7 separate regions of the Homo sapiens genome follow, and regions 1, 3, 4, 5, 6 and 7 are each linked to region 2. Evidence: promoter capture Hi-C in 16 types of primary human blood cells and fetal thymus (Javierre and others, 2016). All regions are on one chromosome and are shown on one strand. Each heading gives the region's core, a stretch centred on a gene start or on the middle of the fragment in contact. The rest is flanking DNA. Distances are from core to core; before and after follow the strand shown.

What was found. Contacts are between HindIII fragments. The CHiCAGO score rates a contact against its expected background, and 5 or more counts as called.
Region 1: a fragment that was not itself captured here is called in contact with the fragment with the promoter of ZNF669 in region 2 in 1 of 17 cell types (fetal thymus); the score reaches 6.2 in fetal thymus.
Region 3: a contact is called between a fragment that was not itself captured here and the fragment with the promoter of ZNF669 in region 2, in 4 of 17 cell types (M0 macrophages, M1 macrophages, monocytes and 1 more). The highest score is 9.1, in M0 macrophages.
Region 4: a fragment that was not itself captured here is called in contact with the fragment with the promoter of ZNF669 in region 2 in 1 of 17 cell types (neutrophils); the score reaches 6.1 in neutrophils.
Region 5: a fragment that was not itself captured here is called in contact with the fragment with the promoter of ZNF669 in region 2 in 1 of 17 cell types (monocytes); the score reaches 5.0 in monocytes.
Region 6: a contact is called between a fragment that was not itself captured here and the fragment with the promoter of ZNF669 in region 2, in 3 of 17 cell types (naive B cells, total B cells and M2 macrophages). The highest score is 6.5, in naive B cells.
Region 7: a contact is called between a fragment that was not itself captured here and the fragment with the promoter of ZNF669 in region 2, in 2 of 17 cell types (neutrophils and monocytes). The highest score is 5.8, in neutrophils.

Annotation. Positions count from the first base shown.
Region 1 is chr1:246,827,460-246,830,921 of GRCh38, reverse strand. No RefSeq gene overlaps it. Among named protein-coding and RNA genes, the nearest start is that of LINC01341, 40 kb to the right of the region's middle. The HindIII fragment of the contact is 7,632 bases long and covers 1-3,462 here.
Region 2 is chr1:247,102,421-247,106,122 of GRCh38, reverse strand. It overlaps ZNF669 (zinc finger protein 669), which reads left to right and starts at 1,767. Exons shown (of 4, transcript NM_001142572.2): 1 at 1,767-1,926. The coding sequence starts at 1,924. It overlaps FLJ39095 (a long non-coding RNA gene), which reads right to left and starts at 1,612. Exons shown (of 3, transcript NR_147502.1): 1 at 483-1,612; 2 at 1-130. RefSeq lists an enhancer at 1,522-1,816. The HindIII fragment of the contact is 5,762 bases long and covers 1-3,702 here.
Region 3 is chr1:247,490,206-247,493,623 of GRCh38, reverse strand. It overlaps the pseudogene OR2W5P. Among named protein-coding and RNA genes, the nearest start is that of OR2B11, 34 kb to the right of the region's middle. The HindIII fragment of the contact is 5,867 bases long and covers 1-3,418 here.
Region 4 is chr1:247,413,575-247,417,354 of GRCh38, reverse strand. It overlaps NLRP3 (NLR family pyrin domain containing 3), which reads right to left and starts at 1,182. Exons shown (of 10, transcript NM_001243133.2): 1 at 1,162-1,182. The HindIII fragment of the contact is 3,668 bases long and covers 1-3,157 here.
Region 5 is chr1:247,521,328-247,525,028 of GRCh38, reverse strand. It overlaps OR2C3 (olfactory receptor family 2 subfamily C member 3), which reads left to right. Exons shown (of 3, transcript NM_198074.6): 3 at 1-352. It overlaps GCSAML-AS1 (GCSAML antisense RNA 1), which reads left to right. Exons shown (of 4, transcript NR_027309.2): 4 at 1-350. It also overlaps a transcript of GCSAML not described here. Among named protein-coding and RNA genes, the nearest start is that of GCSAML-AS1, 7.6 kb to the left of the region's middle. The HindIII fragment of the contact is 6,477 bases long and covers 1-3,701 here.
Region 6 is chr1:247,392,404-247,395,678 of GRCh38, reverse strand. It overlaps LOC107985375 (a long non-coding RNA gene), which reads right to left. Exons shown (of 2, transcript XR_001738574.1): 2 at 1,817-2,337. Among named protein-coding and RNA genes, the nearest start is that of NLRP3, 22 kb to the left of the region's middle. RefSeq lists a silencer at 2,556-2,838. The HindIII fragment of the contact is 196 bases long and covers 1,740-1,935 here.
Region 7 is chr1:247,457,095-247,460,420 of GRCh38, reverse strand. OR2B11 (olfactory receptor family 2 subfamily B member 11) reads left to right here and starts at 2,317. Exons shown (of 2, transcript NM_001004492.2): 1 at 2,317-2,782. The HindIII fragment of the contact is 3,294 bases long and covers 1-3,214 here.

The sequences.
Region 1 (3,462 bases), core at 421-2,920, 280 kb after region 2:
GAATCTCCACCTTCCTGAGCTGGCAGGGAAAGGAAAGGAATGATCTTGCTTCAAATACCACAAACTCTTTTCTTACCAAATTTTAGTACATTTTCTTGAATAGATGCTTTTTTTTTTCTTTTTGAGACAGTCTCACTCTGTCGCCCAGGCTGGAGTGCCGTGGTGCAATCTCAGCTCACTACAGCCTCCACCTCCCAAGTTCAAGCTATTCTTATGCCGTAGCCTCCTGAGTAGCTGGGATTACAGGCACCTGCCATCACACACACATAATTTTTGTATTTTTAGTAGAGACGGGGTTTCACCATGTTGGCCAGGCTGGTCTCAAACTCCTGACCTCAAGTCATCCGCCCGCCTTAGCCTCCCAAAGTGCTGGGACTACAGGTGTGAGCCACCGCGCCCGGCCATGAATAGATGTTTCTTCATGTGCTGTTTGTCCTTAGGACCATTAAAAAGTGTTTTTTTTTCTTCATTTTCATTTTTTAATGGATAATTTTTCACTAGTTTTACTGGGGAGTTCACCAGTTATGCAGGAAGTCAGTATCTCCACTACTGTAGTTATTGTTATTAGTATACCTGGGTGTTAGAGAGCCAGCTCTTCTCAGAAAGTTAATGTGACTAGAGACAAGCCTTTCAAAAATTCCGAGGGAGTACAGGAACAACTGCTTGTCATAATAGCTGCTAAAAGTAACACAATTAGAGAACAAACTGAGGGAAGGGTAAGTTCTTGGCTTAATTTCTTACTAGGTATAAAGACTTGCAAAACAATGAACTTGGATAACAAAGAGAAACTGGAATGATTGACTCCGAATTTGTAATTTGACTGTAGAGAGAGAAGAATTCTGGGAGCAAATGTGTGATTTCCATGCATTCCAGAACTACCACCACTACACAGGACCCTAAGAATCCAGAGCATGTGAAGACATTTACTTTTGACCTGGCATATTGGTCTCACAATGGATTTCAAAGGGATAAGGATGGTGTCCTTATTTCAGCTGATCCTAGTCGTAAATTTGCAGGCCAGGTAAGTTGCTTTAAAACACAGCTTCAATGCCAGTTTTTTGTTGTTTTGTTTTTGATGATGTGTTCACAGTGTGAAAGTATAATAATTTTATGCAAGCATAAATCTATGTTTCCATATGAGAATTTCACTTTAAATTTACTCCTTTTCTATGCTGAACGTGAGGTCCAAAAACACAGCTATGGCCTAAGTAATTTTTAGATACTCAAATCAGTTCATTTGCCAATGTATTGACACACTGAAAAAGGTATGACAGTCAAGTCAATTATATTTTGCTTCCTTGAGATAAGCAAAATAAGCAAACTGTATGAGGCACTTAGCATCTGAGAACTTCTGTTTTAATGAGCATTTATCATATGCCATGCACTGTTCTGCCTGAAAGTTGCTCACAATTTGGTTTGGGGAGACAGGAAAAAAGTACACTCAGATGTTACAGGCTCTGTGATAAGATGTATGGGATACAGTGGGGTACAAAGGTGAGGTGGTCATTCAATCTAGACAGGATATCTGGTGAATGGTTTAATAAAGGGTATGATGTTTAGGCTGAATTTTGACAGACAAGGAGAAACAGTCAGAAAAAGTTATGGGGAGGAAATGAACAGAGCCTCAGTGACATGTGGGACAATCTTACTCTACATGTAATTGGAGTCACAGAAAGAATGGGAGGGGCGTGTGTGCAAAAAATACTTGAAGGAATGATGGCTGAAATTTTCCCAAATTTGATGGAAACTATAAACCCACAGGTCTAAGAAGAGCAATAAGTCCTAAGTAGAATAAGGAAAATCACAGTAAGTCTCATTTTAATTAAATTGCTCTAATCCAGTGATAAAATCTTAAAACAAGTGAGAAAAGATGGAGGAACAACAAGAATGACCGCAGATATATTGTCAGAATTATGCGAGCTAGAACACAATGGAGAGACTTACGAGCTGAAAGCAATTCTCAACCTTGGGCAGGAGCAGTGGTTCATGCCTGTAATCCCAGCACTTTGAAAGGCCGAGGCAGGTAGATTGCTTGAAGTCAGGAGTTCAAGACTAGCCTGGCCAACATGGTGAAACCCCATCTCTCCTAAAAATACAAAACAAAACTAGCTGGGCATGGTGGCACATGCCTGTTATCCCAGCTACTAGGGAGGCTGAGGCAGGAGAGTCACTTGAACCCAGGAGATGGAGGTTGCAGTGAGCTGAGATCACACCACTGCGCTCTAGCCTGGGTGACAGAATGAGACTCCATCTCAAAAAAAAAAAAAAAGAAAAGAAAAGAAATTCTCAACCTAGAACACTGTGCCCAAGAAAATTTTTTTCTAATTTTGAATCTTTCAGAAAGATCACTGATTGTCAAAGCAAGAATAAATTCTGTTGGGATTCAAAACAAATACAGAAATAAAATATGACTACACCAAAAAAAACGAGACAGCTACCAGAAGTATATTGTTTGAAGGTTTTGCATTATAGAGGAAGTAATATAATATTTGAAAATAAAATATTTTAAAGAAATCTATTGTGACCCTAGAGCACAGGGTTTGTTTTATTACAAACACAGGGTGATGTTTTATTAACATCAGTTAATAAAAACATTAAAAATCCATTACTAGTAAACATACATAATATAAAAATATTTTTATGAAAAGTAATTTTTTTTATTATTTATTGATTTATTTATTTTGAGATGGAGTCTCACTCTGTCACCCAGGCTGGAGTGCAGTGGCGCAGTCTTGGCTCACTGCAACTTCTGCCTCCCAGGTTCAAGCGATTCTCCTGCCTCAGCCTCCCAAGTAGCTGGAATTACAGGTGTGTGCCACCACACCTGGCTAATTTTTGTATTTTAGTAGAGATGGGATTTCACCATGTTGGCCAGGCTGGTCTCGAACTCCTGACCTCAAGTCATCCGCCCGCCTCAGCTCCCAAAAGAGCTGGGATTACAGGTGTGAGCCATCACGCCCGATCTATTTTTATTTTTCTTTAGAGATGAGCTCTTGCTCTGTTGCCCAGCCTGGTCTCGAACTCCTAGGCTCAAATGATCCTTCTGCCTCTGCCTCCCAAAGTGATGGGATCTTAAGTGTGAAACACCATGTCAGGCCAAAAAATAGTACTCGAGCCGACACTGAAGAGAATGGCACTGCTTTCCATTTTTTGAAATCTCTGTAATGTCTGACTTCATGAAAGAGCTTGATTCTCTGCCCTGCATGTCATCTATAAAATCACGTTACATAGCCTCTGGCAAATCCCACTGCACACGTTACTCCACTCTACGCTCATGAGAGGATGAGAATGAAAAAAGCAAACATTAGTACGATCACAAAAGGAAGTGTCACTTTACAAACACCCTGAAAAGATCTCACAGACCCTGGAATGCACTGTGTGAACTGATGCCCTAGAGCAATCAATACAAAATAAATAAATAAAACAAGTATAACTAACTAATGAGTCAAGTGTGGGGAAACG
Region 2 (3,702 bases), core at 518-3,017:
GGCGTCCTTTGTCAGTCATCCTCCACTTTCCACTCTCTGGCATTCCTTCACTGGATTATTTGTAGAGATTACCGGGAGCCCGGCGTTGGGCACCAGAGACCAGCCTGGGCAACTGAGGGAGACCCCATTTCTACGAAAAAAAAAAAAAAAAAATTAGGCAGGCGTGGTGTCCAGTGCCTGTAATCCCAGCTACTCCATGAGAGATTGGACAAAACCTGGGACCAGAGACTGATTTTCTTCTAAAATGCTTTCTCCAAAATATTTTTAAAAGAAAAGGGGGAAATTGGAAAGGAAAATGTTTTGAGCCCCCCAGATCACTAAGCTAAAGGGGAAAGTCAATCTGGGAACTGCTTAGGGCAAACCTGCCTCCCATTCTATTCAGAGTCATCCCCTGCTCACTGAGATGAATGCATATCTTATTGCCTCCTTTGGAAAGGCTAATCAGAAACTCAAAAGAATGCAACCGTTTGTCTCTCACCTACCTGTGACCTGGAAGCCCCCTCCTGGCTTCGAGTTGACCCGCTTTTGCTTCAGGTTGTCCCGGATCAAACCAGTGTTCATCTTACATATGTTGATTGATGTCTCCTGTTTCCCTAAAATGTATAAAGCTGTCAGATACAGTCAGTTTCTCTTCCAAGGTTTGGCATGTTAACTTTCTTGTTTTTTTGTTTTCGAACTCAACTTTCTTGTTCTCCATGCCTCCTTGCCCTTAGTTACTGTAAACAACCTTCCGTCAGTTCTAATCAATAACTCACATCTGTTCCCTTGGTTACCTGCTCTGCACCCATTTCTCCCTTGGAAACCGCAAGTCCCACCATTGTAACTCACATCCCCCTTCCCCCTTCCTTATTTGGGAAAATATTCACAAATAGCCAACCGGGTCAGTTTAGATCGTGCGGTCTGACCCCAGCCCATGCCAGAGGTAGGGACTGCGTTAGGAATAAAAACCCCTGCTTTCCTCTGTTCAGTGTGCTCTTGCGATCGTGATTGATGCGAGCAGCACGCTTCTGCAGAAGTAAATTGCGTTGCTGAGAAAACTTTCGCTTGAGTGCTGGTTTCACTTTGCGGCACCGAGCATTTCTCTCCAACAAAACCAAGCTGTGCTCTGACCACCTTGGGCACATGTCATCAAGGACATCCTGAGGCTGTGTCATGCATATGCATCCCCAACCTTGGCAAAATAAACGTTCTAAATACTCTTACCCCAAATGCTCAGGGAGACTGATTTGAATAATCATAAAACTCCAAGCCTGCACTCCAGCCTGGGAGACAGAGCAAGATTCTGTTTCAAAAAAATAAAATAAAATAAAAAAACTCCGGTCTCCCGCACAGAGGACACTGCGTGAATTACTCTTTCTCTATTGCTATTCCCCTGTCTTGAGAAATCGGCTCTGTCTAGGTAGCGGGCAAGGTGAACTCCCTGGGCAGTTACAGAACTGTCATTATATTGCTTCCAATTTTATATATATATATATATATAAAAGGCACAAATAGCTATAACTTGTATACAGGTTAAATGTGAATGTCCTTCTTGCATGGTCGGATCCCAGCGCAGGAAGGACGCACCGCCTACAAACCGCTAGGCCAAAAGCGGTCATTCTGACCTCATCCAGCCTCACGTGAGATCGCAATCTCCTGTCACTCAGGGCCTGAGGGGCGGGGCCTGAAGCCCCATCCAATCAGGGGCGCTGGGGTGGGGACCGTTCAATCAGGCGCGCCGCCGGAAAGGAGAGGGCGGCTTCCGGGATCTGCCTGGCGGTTGCTTTGTCTCTCCTTCGCCGGAGCCGGCTCTTCCTGTTAGTCTCCGCTGCTAGTTCTTGGCTCTGGGAGGCCCAGGTGGCTCTGCAGCAGCCTCTGCCACCCTGTGACCTGCGAGTATTGGGACATCCCTAGCTGACGCCAGGACACCCGGGAAGCCGAGGAATGGTGAGTGGACTGCGCCTGGCTTCCCGAAGTGGAGAAGAGGGCTGGTTGAAACCTGCTGTGGCGCGACTCGGGCCTCCACGCCATCGGCTCCGGAACCTGCGGACCGAGTCGCCGTGGCGTAGCCGGGGCTCAGTCCTCTTCTGTTCAGGGCCGGGCCGGGCGGGGCGGGCAGCGGAACCCCTGCATCCTGTCTGTACCTGCGGGCGCCACTTCCGCCGGCCGGAGCCCTGTCGGGAACCCCTCGCCTCCCCTATCCAGGTAGTGTGGTGACCACGGGAGGGTGATGCGGGAGAGCCCCGACTCGGTGTCTCGGTGTGCGGGGTTCCAGCATGGGAGGAGCTGTGGTTCATGGGGCTTCCAGTCCCACCTTTCTTCCCCTAAAATTAAGCCGAGGCTTTGTTAAAACGTTAAACCGTGTGTTTGAGCAAACGGCGATTCATAAACCAGGTACCGCAGTCATGGTTTGTGGTTTGGGGTCCACAGAAGGGGCGTAAATGAGAGGCTTTGATAAGGTTAATGAGGAAGCAAACCATATTCTTTTTTTTTTTTTTTTTTTTTTTTTTTGGAGACGGAATCTCGCCCTGTCGCCAGGCTGGAGTGCAATGATGCAGTCTCACTCATTGCAACCTCTGACTCCCGGGTTCAAGCGATTCTCCTGCCTCAGCCTCCCGAGTAGTTGGGATTACAGGCGCCCGCCACCACGCCCAGCTAATTTTTGTATTTTTGGTAGAGACAGGGTTTCGCCATGTTGGCTAGGTTGGTCTCGAACTCCTGACCTTAAGTGATCCGCCCGTCTCGGCCTCCTAAAGCGCTGAGATTACAGGCGTGAGCCACCGCGCTCGGCCAAAATATTTTTCTGTTTACAAACATTTTACATGAGAGGAAAGCGGAGAATAAACCATCTGACACTCTACTGTAAAAAAATCTTTGTGCCTCTCTTCATCTTTCCTAAGTGTGCATATTACCAAAATGTCTTTAGGTTGATGTCCCCCTGTGAAAACTTTACAGGGTGTTGTGTCCTCAGCCCTTGGTCTGCTTGCTCATCTCTCTGCTAATACTGTGCTGTCCTGAATATTTTTGGTTGAAAATCTTAAAAGTATGTTAGGCAAGACATAACTCTTTTTTTAGATGACTGAAAATCATTAGACATTTGTCATTTTTACTAGGTATGAAAAACTAGTTTTTCTTGCCTAAAAAAGCCTGATTTGGGAATTTATGTGATTTCACAGGAATAGCATCTGGAAGTGGTGACATTAATGTCATTTTAAAAAACATGTGCCATATTTCCTCTTATTCCATTCTGCCTTGACATTGTGCAATAGAAATTTAAAAATTGTATTAGTAAATTGTTAAATATCAATTATTGGTTTTATTTACTACTCAATTAAATTTAATAAGCCTATTCTCTCTTGGTGTAATCACATGGAATGGGCTCAACTCCCCAATTAACAAGTGACAGCACATATAAAATATTGTCTACCAGGGAAACTCATTAAACACTTAGTGTTCAGACTGTGTTTTGGTGTCTGGTTCCCTAAGCACCACTGCAGTGACACAAAATAATAGACCTTTAGCAGAAAAAGTTTTGGCAACTATATTGCATAAACCATTTAGATGCAGTGAGTCATTCTTATTACTTAGGTTGGTGGAATCCCTTTCAAAATGTAAGTTACTAATACAAACAAAGATTGAACTTTGTGAGCAGGCATTTTTAAGAATAAGTAGTCTTAGGACTGATATTATTAACTCACTTATGCACATCAGGTAGGACTTTAT
Region 3 (3,418 bases), core at 594-3,093, 390 kb before region 2:
AACTGGTATTATCTACAAATAATGTGAAATCCGCACACTTACCCTGAATCACCACCTCACCCCCCAACCCACATTTCTATTAGGGTGCAAAAGTAGGCAGCAAAGTTCTCTGAGAGTTTGTGAGGGATCCTATCTACCTAATCTGAAAGAAGCAAGGAAAGGGTGTTTTCTACACCTGGAAGAGAACATTTTGCATCTTGCAGATAATAAATGGAAAAATACTGAAGCAGAATTTTACTAAAAACAAGATCTAAATAACAATTGCATAAGACCTACAAAAGAATAGATTGCCCAATGCCTGTGGTACATGAAAAAAAAAGTATTACTGAGAGACCACCCACCTCATATTTAACATACTTTGTCTTGCTTAATCTCTACTACAACCCTCTAAGGTGAAGAGTATGACCTCCATAATACAGATGAAAAAGGCTAGGCTTCGAAAGCTAACTGGTGAGAAGATAAATCAGTTCCAAGTCCAGATATGGATGATACTGTCTTCCCCATGCCTGGTGCACAGGATCATTCATACCCAGTGAAGGCAGCCAGGGATTCAGAATGCTACAGGAAGAGTCCTGGGTAATGTGAGGAGCTGGATTTTTATTATCTCTAAAACAATGATTTCAAAATCTATCATCAGTAACACCTAGGGAGCTTTTTAAAGACAGAGATGCCTAGACCCACACCTGGCATTGTAGATTCAGGAAATTTGGAGAGTTCTTGGAAATTTGTGCCTTAAGCGTTCTGATGCACGATCAAGTTTTGGAAACACTGCTTTTAGTAATGTCCAATTCCAATATGCACTGATTTTATAAGATTGGTCATCAGAGTTATTTGTGGAGGTTGGGGGTGGTAATTAATTTGAGTATAGGACAGCTCTCTTTGAAGTAGAATATTTACAGCTGTTTAATCTGCTAAGGAGAACAAATTCATTCTATCTGGATGTGTATCATTTGCTCTGTTCTTCCCAAAGGCTTGCATTCCTGACTAGAGTCAGCTCTTTTGTAGGTACTTTGGCTATGCGAAAAGGTCAAGGAGAAGATGCAAATAACTCTGAGCAAATTCTGCTTTTTCAAAAAGCAACTCAAAGGACATTCCCCACTCATACAGAACCAACCTGTATCCAGGACAGGGCACTATAACTTTACTGATGTTGACCCCTCTCTCTTTGAAAAACTGCCACAGAAGCAAATAAAAGGGCTTGAAGAAAAGGCCACTCATGTTGTCTCAATTTTTATTTGACATCCATGACATAATCTGCAGACTGCCCAGTGCCTTTGGGTGATTGAATTAGTTTTGTAAGTCCCCAGCAGTTGTGGATAAATCAAAAAGACAAGGAAAGTGCAAGATACAGCAGAGATATCCTGAAGCAGGCAACTTCAAACAGAAGGAAACCACTTCACATCCAGAGGGCAGAGGACGGGGTCAAACTCGAAAGCATTTTCCCACCCGCGTTCACTCTACTCCTTGAATATTAGTTCTCCACATGGCCACAGACACATCTAAGAGAGTAACTCCAGCAAACTGTCTACATTACTAGAGTGTTCCCCTCGTTGAGGCTCCCCAGCCCCTTTCTCCCACCCCAGAAGTTTCTTCATGGTCCCCTTCACATCCTTGTTCCTCAAAGTGTAGATGAGGGGGTTGATGCTGGGAATGACGATGGTGTAGAAGAGAGTCAGGAACTTCCCCTGATCTTGGGAGTAGCTGTTGGCCGGCTTCAGGTACACGTAGATGATGGTTCCGTAGAAGAGAGAGACCACTGTGAGGTGAGAAGAGCAGGTGTGGAAGGCTTTCTTTCGCCCTGCTGCTGACTTCATCCTCAGCACCGCGGCTGCAATCACGCCATAGGAGATGAGGATGAGGGAGAGCGGCACCAGGAGGAGAGCCACCCCCAGGGCAAAGGTGAATCGCTTCTACCAGCATGGTTTCCTCACAAGACATGGCAATAAGAGCAGGCATCTCACACAGGAAGTGGTCCACCCTGCGACGTCCACACCGGGAGAGCTGCATCGTCTGAGGACACATGATGAAGGAGTTTAGGAAGCCACAGCACCAGGCCACAGTCACCAGCTGCAGGCAGAGATGTGGGCGCATGACTGCCATGTAGTGCAGGGACCGGCAGACGGCCACATAGCGGTCATGGGACATGACAACCAGGAGGACGCACTCGGTGGAGCCCAGCATCATGTAGATGTAGAGTTGGGCCACACAGCCGTGGTAGGTGATGGTCTTCTCTGGACCCCCCAGGTTCCACAGCAGCTGAGGGGCAATGCTTGCTGTAAAGCAGAGATCTAAGAAAGACAGATTCCCAAGAAAGAAGTACATGGGTGTGTGGAGCCTGACATCCATGACCAGCAAGAGGATGATGGCAGTGTTGCCCACCAGGGTCAGGATGCAGAAGATCAAGATAACAGCAAAGAGAATTTTCTCCAGTCCAGGCCGATCAGAAGAGCCCACCAGGATGAATGCCTGTAGGTAACTGGCATTGTCCTTTCCCATAATCCACCAGCTATTACAGAGAAACAACCAAAGAATTAGATAAGGGGGCACATGCAGATGATCTGGCACTCTCCAATTTCCATTTACAGGTCTGTGAAGTTAAGAGAGCCATTTGCCCTTTCTTTGCTTTTTTAGAATAGACTTATTGAAACCTGTTACATGCAAAGTCGTGTGCCTGATGCCCCAGGAAGACGGGATGAATTGACTCTGGAGCTTCCCTCCTTGGTGAATAATGTGTATGAATAATGACAAAGAAGGGAGAAAGAGAAAGTTCTCTAAAAGAAGATGCGTTAAAAGGCTGAGTATTATGCAGATCACTCCCAAGTGATCAGGAGGGCCTGTGTAGAACAGTTTGTATTAAGGGAGACTGCTGAGTCTGAGAGTTGTTTTTGGTTGTTGCAAATAATAAGTAAGAATTTGACATGTGGCAGATTGAGCTAAATATGTTTCACAAAGAGGAGGTAGTATATACAAAGTCATGAAGGACCACATTTATGGGTGATGCTTAAGGAAGCCATGAATGTACGTACCAGGCAACTCCTTAATGGCATGTAATTTTATTAAGATGAAACACAGTGATTTTTGACCCTACAAGAAAGGACTGTGATGATAGGTTTAATTCTGCCTCTGTAAAACACAGGTCTGCAAATGTATGGCCTGCTATTCAGTTCATCTCTCTCTAACTTGGCTTTTCCTTGTGCAACATGGGAAAGAGGCTAGATCTTCTCTAAGTCCCCACTCAGACCTCACATGTCTATGTAACTGGTGACACTGAGTATATACCCTGAGCACTTTCAGCTATTGAGGATTTCCACAGTCTAAGCCAAGGGCTTTGATGGGGACTCTGCCTTATACAGCCAATATCCACCCAGGCTTGTATCTGCTATGATAATAGCAAACGGCATCTGGGCAACACACAAGA
Region 4 (3,780 bases), core at 74-2,573, 310 kb before region 2:
TAACCTGCACAGAGCTCTATGAGGTGCACCTATTCCTAGCCCCATTTTATAGATGCATAAACTGAGTCTTAGGGGGACTAGGAAGCCTGCCGAGGGGTTTAGAACCAGGAAGGAACAGAGCCAGGATTTTGACCAGAGATATGAGACCATGTCTTCCATCACTTGTTTCAGTCAGACAAAGACAAAGACAACAAAATAGATGACTAAAAGACACACTTCCCCAGCATTTATCACAGGTGTATCACTGCAGCATTCACCAACATAGTCTTCCCAACTAGACTGTGAGTTCCACAAAAACTAGCAATCACCTGCTGTATCTTTAGATCTTCCATATCTCCTAGAGTCCGGATGGATGAACAAGTTGGCTTTGTTTGGAATTGTTCCCTCCTTGATCCCTTGATTATACTCTATTTGGCAAAGCACCTCAACCTAAAGCCATAAATAACACTCAAGGGAGGCAGAGAGCCTGGAAAACGGTGGAGCTCTCCAAATTGGAATTTCTGTGACTGCAGTTCAATGTCAAGATGCCTCAGACTCACTCATCTCTCCCGTCCCATCTCCATTCCTGCCTATCTACTCCTCGCCTCCTGAGCCCTGCAAACCCAGCCCTGTGCATCCTGAGGTGACTGCTCTCCAGACAGCCCTATTAGCTCCGCATACCCTCCCAGCTCCTGCCCATCCTGAGGTGACTGCTCTCCAGACAGCCCTATTAGCTCCGCATACCCTCCCAGCTCCTGCCCCATCAGTCCTTCCATCTGCATCAGGATTCTGCCTTTCTTCTGTGCTCCTTCCACCCTAACACCAGCACAAAAATCTGCTGCCCTTTGGTCTTTAAGGAGGTTTGTTTCCTTCTGTATATCCCATCCATCTTCTCCCCTGGGAGGGATACTGGGCAAATCTGCTGAAGTCGTGGGTGTAAACTATGGTTGCTGCCGCTGTCCTCCCCGCTTCCCCCCGCCACATACACACACACGAACTTGCACACGTAGAGCCCAAATAATGATAAAAGAACATTCCAGAAATGTTGTTGAAGCACAACCTTGGAGACGCCAGAAGAAATTCCTAGTGCATTAACCAGGACAAGTTCTGCCCTCTGAACACAATCTCCCCCACTGCTCTCCCGGTCCTGTCGCCCACACTGCCCCGCGGAGCTGGACTTACCCAGATGCCAGCCTCAGGAACAGCTAGAGAGGAAATGCAATGAATTTATAGCAGTCGCAGCCCCAGAAGGGGCAGGAAGGATGTGGTCTCCACTTACATCAGAGCAGAGGCAGAGAGACTAATGGTTAATCACATAGCTGGATTTTCCAAATGGGATCAACAGTGTTGTCAAAACCGTGTCTCGGTTCCATACTGGGGTTCACCTTGCTCTCCTCTGAGGCACCCCACAGAAGCAGGGTGGGAGGCCAGTATGAGATGGGGCTGGGGGTCAAATCGGCAGTGCTAAATGGATGTTGCCTCTGACACTGCCCGCTGCAACGGCTCCACTGAGAGTGAGGGAAGTGAAACTAAGGACATGCCATGCGAGTGAGTAAAGAATCCAGAGCATGACCTGACCCAGCCTTCAAACTCCAGAGTCCATGCCCTGTCCTCTCACAGCAAGATGGCTGGAAGGCAGTACAGGTTCTCTCCGACATGTTCTACTTTTAAAGCACAAATTTTACTCCCTGACTCATTGACTCACCTGTTCCACTAACACTCACGGAATGGCTGGTATGTGGCAGGCATGCACACAAAGCCTCAGCTTGAGTAGCTTGAGGAGAGACACACACAGACCTACTCTGCAGCTCATGAGACGGCCGCAGGACCACAGACCGGCAAAGGCACAAGTTCAACAGAGCTTGGTGGGTGAGAGGCACTCGCTCAGCCTCTGGGTGAGTGAAAAGGACGAGCACCCAGTTCAGTGGAGGGATGTCAGCAAATGACTGGGTCTGTCTGTGCCTCATACCTGTAAAAGGGTGACAATAATTGCCTGCTACTTCTTTAGATCTTCCAAATCTCCTAGACTCAGGATGGATGAACAAGTGGTTTTGCTTGGAATTGCCCCCTCCTTGATCCCTTCATTATACTGCATTTGACCAAGCACTACATCAACCCAAATAACGGTACCTATCCTAGAAGGCTGTCAGAAAACACTGAGTGAATGGCTAAACGTGAGGCCTTTAAAACAGAGCCTGGCACAGAGAAGCTAGAATAAGCAGTTGGTTCCGATGACTACCACCTTTCTACAGAACTGCAGAGAGAATGCTCTACAACATGAGAGAGGCATCTAGTCCTGCTTAGGGGCATGACAGCAGACCTGAGTCTCCATGAACCAGGTGAAAGGTGTCATTCGGGGCTGGAGCTGAGGCAGGAGCAGCAAAAACTTCAGGTGCTGAAGCTAGAGAGAAAGCAGACCAAATATGCTCCAAAAGAAAGGAGCTCAGCCTGGGTGCAGTGGCTCATGCCTGTAATCCCAGCACTTTGAGAGGCCAAGGCAGGCAGATCACAAGGTCAGGAGTTTGAGACCAGCCTGGCCAACATGACGAAACCCCATCTCTACTAAAAATATAAAAAAAAATAGCTGGGTGTGGTGGCGGGCACCTGTAATCCCAGCTACTCAGGAAGCTGAGGCAAGAGAATCACTTGAACCTGGGAGGTGGAGGCTGCAGTGAGCTGAGATTGTGCCACTGCACTCCAGCCTGGGTGACAAGAGCAAGACTCCATTTCAAAAAAAAAAAAAGGAGCTCATTGGCTGAACCTGGGATCTTTTTGTTTTTGTTTGTTTAGTCAAGTTAATTTAGGTATAATTCAGCCGGGCGCAGTGGCTCACGCCTGTAATCCCAGCTCTCAGGGAGGCAAGAGGCGGGAGGATAGCTTGAGCCCAGGAGTTCGAGACCTGCCTGGGCAATATAGTGAGACCCCATTCTCCAGAAAAAGGAAAAAAAAAAGACAAATTTAGGTATAATTCATATGCAGTAAAAATCCATGCCTTTATAAAAACAGACCCATAGACCAGTGGAACAGAAATAAACTCAAGTATATGCAGTCAACTAATTCTTTGACAAGGTCACCAAGAAGACACAATGGAGAAAGGACAATCTCTTCAATAAAGATGTTGGCTATAGAAGTGTGAAAAAAAAATCAAGAAAAATATAAGATTTTGAAAAATTAAGCTTTTGGTGAAACTGGATTTCCACACGCAAAAGAATAAAACTTGGCACACACAAAAACCAACTCAAAATGGATTAAAGATCTAAACATAAGATCTAAAACTGTAAAACTCCTAGAAGAAAATAGAGAAGAAGCCAGGCATGGTGGCTCATGCCTGTAATCCCAGCACTCTGGGAGGCTGAGGCAGGAGGATCACCTGAGGCCAGAAGTTCACAGTCAGCCTGGGCAACATAGTGAGACTTTGTGTCTACAAAATTAAAAAAAAAAAAATTAGCCAGGCATGGTGCTGTGCACCTGTAGCCCAGCTACTCAGGAGGCCGAGGCAAGAAGATCACTTGAGCCCAGGAATTTGAGGTTACAGTGAGCTATAATGACACTACTGCATTCCAGCCTGGGTAACAGAATGAGACCCAATCTCTAAACAGATAAAAAACTAAATATAAAAAATAGAAAACAGAGGAGAAAACTTCTTGATATTAGCCTTGGCATGGATATTTTTAATGTCTCAACAAAAGCAAAGGAACAAAAGTAAAGATAAATAAGTGGGAATACATCAAAGTAAAAAGCTCCTGTATAGCAAAAGAAACAATCAACAGAGTGAAAAGGTAGCCAACAAATTGGAAGAAA
Region 5 (3,701 bases), core at 772-3,271, 420 kb before region 2:
ACATTTGATTTTGTTAGTAACTTTAGTTTTACTTGCAAATCTTACCTCAGTATCATTTTATTTGGCATTGATTTAATCATTAGTGAGGTTTAACATCTTCTGGTATGTTTTGGGGCTATTTGTGTTTCTTCAATAAATTGTTTTTTTCTTAAATTTTCATTGTTTTACCTTTTTGCTTACTGATTTGTAGCGGTAGTTGACATGATTCTACACATCTTTGTCATCATATAAGTGTTGAATCGTTTTTCTAGTGGGACGTTTTATCCTTTTGCTATGTTTTGTTTGTTTCCTTTGTGGTACAAAAGTTTTAAATGTTATATGTATTAAATAAACTATCAATCATGCCTTTATGCCTTCTAGTTGTGGGACTGTTCATTATTTCATTCAAAGAAATGAATTATTATTTAAACATGGTTTATGTATGCAGCCTGTATTGGAGGCTGAAGATGCAGGAATAAATAACTGATATCCCTGCTTTCATAGGATGCAAAAGTTCGGGAAGAGAGAATATTCACCAACAAAGCAAGCAAATGAGAATGTCGGTTAAGAGATACGATCAACTGCCATGCAGGGTGAGCCTGGAGAAGGTGACATGAGGTCTAGGGACTGCCACTTGCGCTCTCCCCTGAAACAAAGGAGGAAGTCACACAGCATGGGTATGGAGGGCATCCCAAGGGGAGGGAGTAGCCAGTATCAAGGCTTTGGAAGAGGAAGGGCTACATGTGTAGAAAGGCTGGTGTGGCTGAAAGAGAGTAAGGGAAAGAGTGGTGGGAAGTGAGGTCTGAGAGATCCCTCAGGCCCAGGTAATAAATGTCTTAGAGACCCTAGATGTATGGAATTTCATATTTTCAGACTATTTGGAAGAAGTAAAGGGCATGATAAGCCTTCATGCTTGGAGTTATGCTTAGAAATGGCCTGCGATCTTCCAGATTGTATTTATCTTCTCGTTTTATGGTTTTCTATTTTATGTTTAGGTTTTCAATTCACTGCATCTGCAGAGTGTGTGTGTGTGTGTGTGTGTGTGTGTGTGTAAGACAGATGTTGTTTTCCAAATGTTCAGTCAATTGTCCCAAAACAATTTATTTCGCTAGCTGTATTTTCATTATTTGCTTCAAATTATACCTTTACCATATTCAAAATTTCATATATGTGCAAATTTATTTCAGGAATATCAATTCTATTAATATTTATTCATTTATTTTATTTCATTCACATTTGTAACACTTTTAATAGCTGTTGATGTATAGTATATTTTGTCATCTAGTAGAACAAGGCATCAATCATTATCTATTTTTCTAATTTAGACTTTTCATGGTTGTCACTATGTTCTGCTCTACCAAGTTAAAGTCACAGCTAGTTTCCTCCTAACCCAAAACAGTATCTTATTGACTGTGGTTAGTATTGAACTACATTTTTAAATTAATGTCTGGAAAATTTACCATGTTTGCAGGACCAAGACTTCCATGTGGATAATGAACAAAGGAACTGAAGCACGGGGGTGGGATCATGTCATTAAGTACTTGCTATGGGTCCTGATGCCTCACTTGACTATGAATCCTTGGTCAATAAACCCACCTCTCTGAACCCTGTTGTCTTTATCTGTAAAGGGTGGCAAAAACACCAGTCTTGAAAGGTTTCTGCAGAGACTTAAGTAATGAGAAATTGGTACTCAATATAATGACTAGCACAGTAAAACCTCAATGAATGTTAGGAATTATTCCTGTCTATATATGCATGTAGATCTTTTATTCCTTCAGGAAAGATTTCCAGTTTTCTTCATATAGGTCTTGATTATTACTTGATTATTACGCTGCTGTAACAGAGACCAAAACTACAGTGGTTCAAAGGAGATAAAGTGTATATAGGTTGAAGGGGCATCTGTTCTGTAGGAGGTTGCCAACCCCAAACTGCAGAGCAAGAGCTACTGACAAACAGTAGATGGAGGTTCATTTATTTACTAAAAATGATAAACATTTTTGATACAATAGAGGATTTCATATATATTTTCTAAAACTAGACTGAGTGTTAGCAATGTGAAGCAGTATTTGTTAGAGCACTCAGAAAAATTTCTCATTAAAAGTTATACGTTATGGTTTTTTTTTTTTTTTTTTTAGTATTTATTGATCATTCTTGGGTGTTTCTCACAGAGGGGGATTTGGCAGGGTCATAGGACAATAGTGGAGGGAAGGTCAGCAGATAAACAAGTGAACAAGGGTCTCTGGTTTTCCTAGGCAGAGGGCCCTGCGGCCTTCCGCAGTGTTTGTGTCCCTGGGTACTTGAGATTAGGGAGTGGTGATGACTCTTAATGAGCATGCTGCCTTCAAGCATCTGTTTAACAAAGCACATCTTGCACCGCCCTTAATCCATTTAACCCTGAGTGGACACAGCACATGTTTCAGAGAGCATGGGGTTGGGGTTAAGGTCATAGATAACAGCATCCCAAGGCAGAATAATTTTTCTTAGTACAGAACAAAATGGAGTCTCCTATGTCTACCTCCTTCTACACAGACACAGCCACAGTCTGATTTCTCTATCTTTTCCCCACATTTCCCCCTTTTCTATTCAACAAAACCGCCATCGTCATCATGGCCCATTCTCAATGAGCTGTGGGGTACACCTCCCAGACGGGGTGGCGGCCGGGCAGAGGGGCTCCTCACCTCCCAGAAGGGGCGGCCGGGCAGAGGCGTCCCCCACCTCCCAGACGGGGCGGCGGCCAGGTGGAGGCGCCCCCCACCTCCCTCCCGGACAGGGCGGCTAGCCGGGTGGGGGCTGCCCCCCACCTCCCTCCCGGACAGGGCGGCTGGCTGGGCGGGGGCTGCCCCCCACCTCCCAGACAGGGCGGCTGCCGGGCGGAGACGCTCCTCACTTTCCAGATGGGGCGGCTGCCAGGCGGAGGGGCTCCTCACTTCTCAGACGGGGCGGCTGCCAGGCGGAGGGGCTCCTCACTTCTCAGATGGGGCGGTCGGGCAGAGACGCTGCTCACCTTCCAGACGGGGTTGCGGCCGGGCAGAGGCGCTCCTCACATCCCAGACGGGGCAGCGGGGCAGAGGCGCTCCCCACATCTCAGACGATGGGCAGCCGGGCAGAGACGCTCCTCACTTCCTAGACGGGATGGCGGCCAGGAAGAGGCGCTCCTCACTTCCCAGACTGGGCAGCCGGGCAGAGGGGCTCCTCACATCCCAGACGATGGGCAGCCAGGCAGAGATGCTCCTCACTTCCCAGACGGGGTGGTGGCCAGGCAGAGGCTGCAATCTCGGCACTTTGGGAGGCCAAGGCAGGCGGCTGGGAGGTGGAGGTTGTAGCGAGCTGAGATCATGCCACTGCGCTCCAGCCTGGGCAACATTGAGCACTGAGTGAACGAGACTCCGTCTGCAATCCCAGCACCTCAGGAGGCCGAGGCTGGCAGATCACTCGCGGTTAGGAGCTGGAGTCCAGCCCAGCCAACACAGCGAAACCCCGTCTCCACCAAAAAAATACGAAAACCAGTCAGGCGTCGTGGCGCCCCCTGCAATCCCAGGCACTGGGCAGGCTAAGGCAGTAGAATCAGGCAGGGAGGTTGCAGTGAGCCAAGATGGCGGCAGTACAGTCCAGCTTCCGCTCGGCATCAGAGGGAGACCATGGAAAGAGAGGGAGAGGGAGACCGTGGAGAGGGAGAGGGAGACCGTGGAGAGGGAGAGGGAGACCGTGGAGAGGGAGAGGGA
Region 6 (3,275 bases), core at 588-3,087, 290 kb before region 2:
GCATGTACAAATAAAAATAAGATTTTGAATAATTAAAAACAATAAATAGTAGGAACACTTAAAAGAAAGAATTATTGGCTGGGCGTGGTGGCTCACGCCTGTGATCCCAGCACTGTAGGAAGCCGAGGCGGGTGGATCACAAGTCAGGAGTTTGAGACCAGCCTGGCCAACATGGTGAAACCCCGCCTCTACTGAAAAATACAAAAATTAGCTGGGCGTGGTAGCACACGCCCGTAGTCCCAGCTACTCAGGAGGCCGAGGCAGGAGAATGGCTTGAACCCAGGAGGCAGAGGTTGCAGTGAGCTGAGATCACGCCACTGCACTCCAGCCTGGCGACAGAGCAAGTTTCCATCTCAAAAAAATAAATAAATAAATAAAATGAAATAAAATGAAATAAAATAAAATAAAATAAAATAAAATAAAATAAAATAAAATAAAATAAAATAAAATGGAGATGAGGTCTCCACACGTTGCCCAGGCTGGTCTTGAACTCCTGGGCTCAACAACCTTCAGGCCTCGGCCTGCCAAAGTGCTGGAATTACAGGCATGAGCCACAGCACCTGGCTGACATATAAGCTTTTGAAAAGCTAGAAGCAAATTCCCCGAAGTGGGGACAATTCTAGTTGTGTAGTAAAACAATAGATTAGACTTTTCTTTTTTCTAAATTTCTGTATTTTCGCATTTAAGTTATTGTGTCTTCTTTTTGCTTCATTATTTCAAATAACACATCATACAATATTACATATGATAGTGATTTAAGATTAGGGAATTTATTTATGTGGTGATACATATTTTATGACCCCATAATATGTGTGAATTGAAAGCCAGAACCATGACTATTGTGAAGCTAACAGACCTGCTGTGGTCTAAATATTTGTGTCCCCTCTAAATTCATGTTAAAATCTAGTCACCAAGGTGATGATATTTGGAGGTGGGAACTTTGGAAGGTGATTGGGTCATAAGTGTGCAGCCTTCATAAATGGCGTTAGTGCCTATAAAAGAGACCTCCAAGAGCTGCCTTGCCCCTTCCATTAGGGTATAGAAACACAGCAAGAAAACACCATCTGTGAATTAAGAAATGGGTTCCCACCAGGCACTGAGTCTATTTGTGCCTTGATCTTGAACTTCCAGCCTCCACAACTGTGGGAAATCCATTTCTATTGTTTATCAGCACCCCCAGTTCATGGTATTTTATTAGAGTAGCCTGAATGGACGAGATGGCCTTCATCGGGTCTTTTCACCATTATGGGCCCAACCGCAGCTCAATATCATTAGAGGAGAAAAAACACTGACCTCCTGCAGGCCATGCAAGAAGGCAAATGGAAATATTGGTAATATTCATTTATAGTGGACTGACTGTGCCCCACTAAAATTCATGTGTTGAAATCCCCAGTGTGATGGTATTAGGAGGTGAGAACTTTGGGAAGTAATTAGCTCACAAGAATGGAGCCCTCTTGAATGGTATTAGTGTCCTTATAGGAAGAGGCCAGAGAGCTCTCTTGCCTCTTTCTGCCATGTGAGGATACAACAAAAAGTTGGCAGTCTGCAACTTGGAAGACAGCCCTCACCAGAGCCTGACCATGCTGGAGCTCTGATCTTGGTTTTCCAGCCTCCAGAACTGTGACAAATAAATTTCTGTTGTTGATAAGCTACCCAGTCTGTGGACCTTGTTATAGCAGCCCAAATGGACTGAGACACCATTTAAAGAACAAAAGAGCAAAACTCCCAAATGGAAAGCTTAATATGTGATTAAGCATTAAAAAATGCAATTCTTATTAGTAACCTGAGAGGAAAGCAAGCTAGATATTCAATATGCTTTAAGTTAGATATTCAATATGCTTTAATTTTTTTGAAATGGTAAATGACAAACAAAAAGTATCATCTACATATTGCAAAAGGGGCTGACACTATCTTAAAATATGTGAAAGTTAAGCTTGAGTTGTACAATTTGGGGGCAAATGTGACTGGGCACTGGGTGTTAGGTGAAGTGATCTATGGCCAACCAGCTGGCTTCTGACAGCAGGGGTGTTAGGGAGGAACCCCTGCCTTAGATTGCCCCAGGTTCTCAGCTCTTGTTCAGCATTTTCTTTCCAGAAAATAGGTCCTTTTATTCCATGTAAAAATTGCAAAGGTTTAAATTCACATAAATTATAAATGGATCCATCAGCACCATCTCTGAGGACAGATGTAGTCAAAAAGAAAGACGGTGTTTTCTGTTTGGAAGAAGAATCACGGCAGATGCAGAGCAGAGCTTAGACAGTGGAGCATGCAGAGGAGCTCTCTTGGCTTCCATCATCTTGCTTCTGGTCAGCCTTGATGAGAGGTAGAGTCCTGGAGCTGGAGGTGGATGTACAGGGAACAATCATAAAAGAGGAGGGAAGGGAGGATGCTTGCCTATTCCCAGGATCAAAAGTAGACATGTAGGCCAGGCATGGTGGCTCATACCTGTAATCCCAACACCCCGAGAGGCTGAGGCAGGAAGATCACTTGAGGCCAGGAGTTTGAGACCAGTCTGGGCAACATAACAACAGTCTGTCTCTACAAAAAATATATATATATTTAAAAAACAAATTAGCTGGGCATGGTGGCATGGACTTGTAGTCCCAAGCTACACAGGAGGCTGAGGCAGAAGGATCTCTTGAGCCCAGGAGTTCAAGGTTACAGTGAGCCATGATTGTGCCACTGCACTCCAGCCTGGGTAACAGTGTGAGACCCTGTCTCAAAAAAAAAAAGCAAGCATCTGCTCCTTTAAGATGCAGTAGACAGACCAGGCCGTGGTGACTCATGACTGTAATCCCAGCACTTTGAGAGGCTGAGGCAGGAGGATAACTTGAAGCCAAGAGTTCAAGACCAGCCTGGGCAATATAGTGGGACCTCTGTTTCTCCAAAAAAAAAAAAAAAATGCAGTAGATAAGAAGTCTCAGACTAGATGAATGCTCACTCAGTCTAAAGGCATTCACCAAGACACCATTGTGGGTGAGGCACAGAGAAGCTTTGTGTCCTCAGAAGGCCTCTCACACTCCGATACTTAAACTCACCTTCACACAGGTTCTTTCTACCATACAGCTGTAAGCACAGGTCCATGTCCAGGCCATGCTGCCTACAGTGTAGCATGTCTAAGATTCTTTTTCATAGTCCTGTAACTATTTTGTTCAAAGTACAATATTGTTGCAAGACATTTCCAAGTGTGATAGAATGTTAAAAAGGAAAAAAAAGTCCAGACTTTAATGTTACAGTGAACTGTGACAAAGATTCCCTCCTCTACCAAACTTCAG
Region 7 (3,326 bases), core at 318-2,817, 350 kb before region 2:
TGCATGGAGTAAAAGGGGGTGCCAACAATAAGAGTGGGAGAACAGATATTTGAAGAAAGATGATCAAGACGAGAATTAGCACAATTCCAGTGGGACCCTGTGTCAGTCTCAGTCGTGGGAGTTTCCAACTACAATTGCATCTGGGTTTTCTCAGCACAAAACTGTTTATTCCACCTTTCTTCCCCCAACTGCAGAGATATGGAAGCCTCTCCACTTCTGGAAATTATCCCAGCTGGATAACAAGACAGTGTCTAAGGCCGGGCACGGTGGCTCACACCTGTAATCCCAGCACTTTGGGAGGCCGAGGCAGGCGGATCACCTGAGGCCAGGAGTTCGAGACCAGCCTGGCCAACATAATGAAACCCCGTCTCTACTAAAAACACAAAAAATTAGCCAGGTGTGGTGGTGGGTGCCTGTAGTCCCATAGACTCGGGAGGCTGAGGCAGGAGAATCACTTGAACCCAGGAGGCAGAGGTTGCAGTGAGCCGAGATCGCACCACTGCACTCCAGCCTGGGAGACAAGAGTGAAACTCCGTCTCAAAAAAAAAAAAAGTGTCTAAGATGTCCCTGGTGCCTCATCTGGCTCTCCGTGGGAGAGAGTACAAGAGAGCATGCTTAGAATCAGGGACAGCTCCCACTTCTTCGCCAAAGCACAGTCGCCCCATCTTCTTCTGGGACATATTCTCTCCTCCCTCCATCCCCAGAAGGTAAAAATAGAGCCCTAACTCATGGCCATGACTCACCCTGTGTCCACTTAGACATCTAAAGCTAGAGAAAAAAGACGATCGAGTCAAAACCTAGAGAGGGAGAGTAACTGCACCAAGGTGCTGCTATTCACAGTGGTTCCCATAGCAGCATTTAATCACATGAATTGTAGCTCATGAATTAAAATTTGCGCTACAAGAATTCTATTTGGCCATAAAAAAAATGAAGTCATATCTTTGCTGCAATGTGGATGGAATTGGAGGACACTATCTTAAGCCAAACAACTGAGGAACAGAAAGTCAAATACCAGATGTTCTCAGTTACAAGTGGGAGCTAAATTATGTGTCCACAGGGATGCAGAGGATGGAGTAAGAGACCCTGGAGACTAGGGTGGGTAGGACGGTGTCAGGGGGTGAGGGAGGAGAAATTACGTGGGGTAAAATGTACGTTATTCGGGTGATAGTTACGCTAAATGCCCAGATTTCACCACTGCACAATATATCCGTGTAACAAAATTGCACCAGTAGCCCTTAAATTTATACAGATAAGAAAATAAAAGAATAAATAAAATAAAATGTGCACTACTTCTTGCGGCCTGTCTTAAGAAAGATTTTTTTTATCCCCTCCATGTGAAAAATATAATAGGGTGCTGAGACAATATATCAACAACAACAACAACAAAAAGCCCTCAACATGTATCACTCTGTGCCACTCATTGTTCTGAGTGCTTTACAAGAAACAATTCATTCCACCCTTGTAACAGACTGTGCAAAACAATACTAATGTTTCTTGTATTTTTAAGAAAACACAAGTGAGGCACAGATAGGTTAAGTAACCTGCTCAAAGACACATGGCATGAGTGACCGAGCCTGGTGTTGAAGCCAGTTCAGGTCTCATGCTTTACCTGAATCACACACTCTAGTTACTACTCCACTCTGATGTTACAGTAATCACCTCACCACGCACCAGCCCTAAAGAGTTCAACACACACACACACACACACCACACACCAGCCCTAAAGAGTTCAACACACACACACACACACCACGCACCAGCCCTAAAGAGTTCAACACACACACACATACACACACCATGCACCAGCCCTAAAGAGTTCAACACACACACACATACACACACCAGCCCTAAAGAGTTCAACACACACACACACACCACGCACCAGCCCTAAAGAGTTCAACACACACACACACACGCCACGCACCAGCCCTAAAGAGTTCAACACACACACACACCATGCACCAGCCCTAAAGAGTTCAACACACACACACACACCACGCACCAGCCTTAAAGAGTTCAACACACACACACACACCACGCACCAGCCCTAAAGAGTTCAACACACACACACACACACACACACACACACACACACACACAGAGTTCTTATTCCCCATTATTGATCCATTTTCTCTGGTCTTCTGGGATTTGCCATTAATTGCAAGAACTCCAAGCTCTCACACCACCTCAATTATCAGCTAACCCCTTAGACACTAATTAAATAAAGCATCAGGGATAATTTCACAGCCAGAGGAGAGCAAGTTTTTACTCTCACGTCTGGGGAGAATGAGCAGGGCCCTTATAGAAAACAGTGGAGAGAATGAGGTCAAGTTAAATCTGAGGGATAATTTTGAAATGAACAGAGAGCGTGACACGGGCAAGGTGTGTTGCCTGAAAGCCTTATCCTCGGAAGTAACCTCCACCATGTCAAGGTACCTATAGGCACTCTGGGGGACTAAGGTTAAGGCAGTTCCACCGACCTCACGTACTGCCAAGGGAGAGTCCGGGAAACCCTGAGTCTCCCCAGCAAGCCTGTTGCAACGGACAGCAGACTCCTTCTAGACTGAGAATAATCTCTCAGACTTGCTCAGAGGGTTGGGTTCCAGTAAATGGTAAGGTCCCAGCAGCCCATCAGAGGAAATGTGCTGTGTGTTCCTGGAATATGAAGAGCATTTCTAGTAAGTCCATCCTTAAATGTCCCTCCGCGACTAAGGCCAACACAGACTGCAATATAGCCTTCAGTCCTAAAGCAAGTCTTCTGTAGGAGCCAGGAACCCTGGAGGTGAGTGATTCATCCTCAACTCCAGTCAAACTGAAATCTGTACAGTGCAGTGGAGGTGCAGGATGGGCAGTATTAACACTGGGCTATGCTGGAGACCAAGGGCACATGAGGTGGAGGATGGATGGGTCGATGAGCAATGGCCACGTATTAAGCAGCAAGTGTAAAATTGTGTTGTGTGGTTTTATCTAGAAAAGAGAGCCGGGAGCAGAACAGGATGCTCTGCCTGGAGGTAGGCACGCTGTCTGACACTCATCTGAACAGTGGACGCTGCACACAGTGTGTGGGGACGCTGAGTCCCTTTCCTCCGCTTCCTCCTATTTTTGAGGCTGCTGAATCACAGTCACAAGGGCAGTAGTGAGCTGAGCAGGGCCATGGAAAGAGAGAAAAAGAGAATGCAGAGCTGAATCGTATCAGTCCCCGAGAAAGCAAGCTTCAGGTTGAAAAATCTGAAAAAGTCAGACCACATAAAAAGGCGATGACGTGTGGTGGTGGTAGGGGGAGGCATGTGCAGAGGGGCTGACCCTGCCTGAGCCACGCGCTGAGG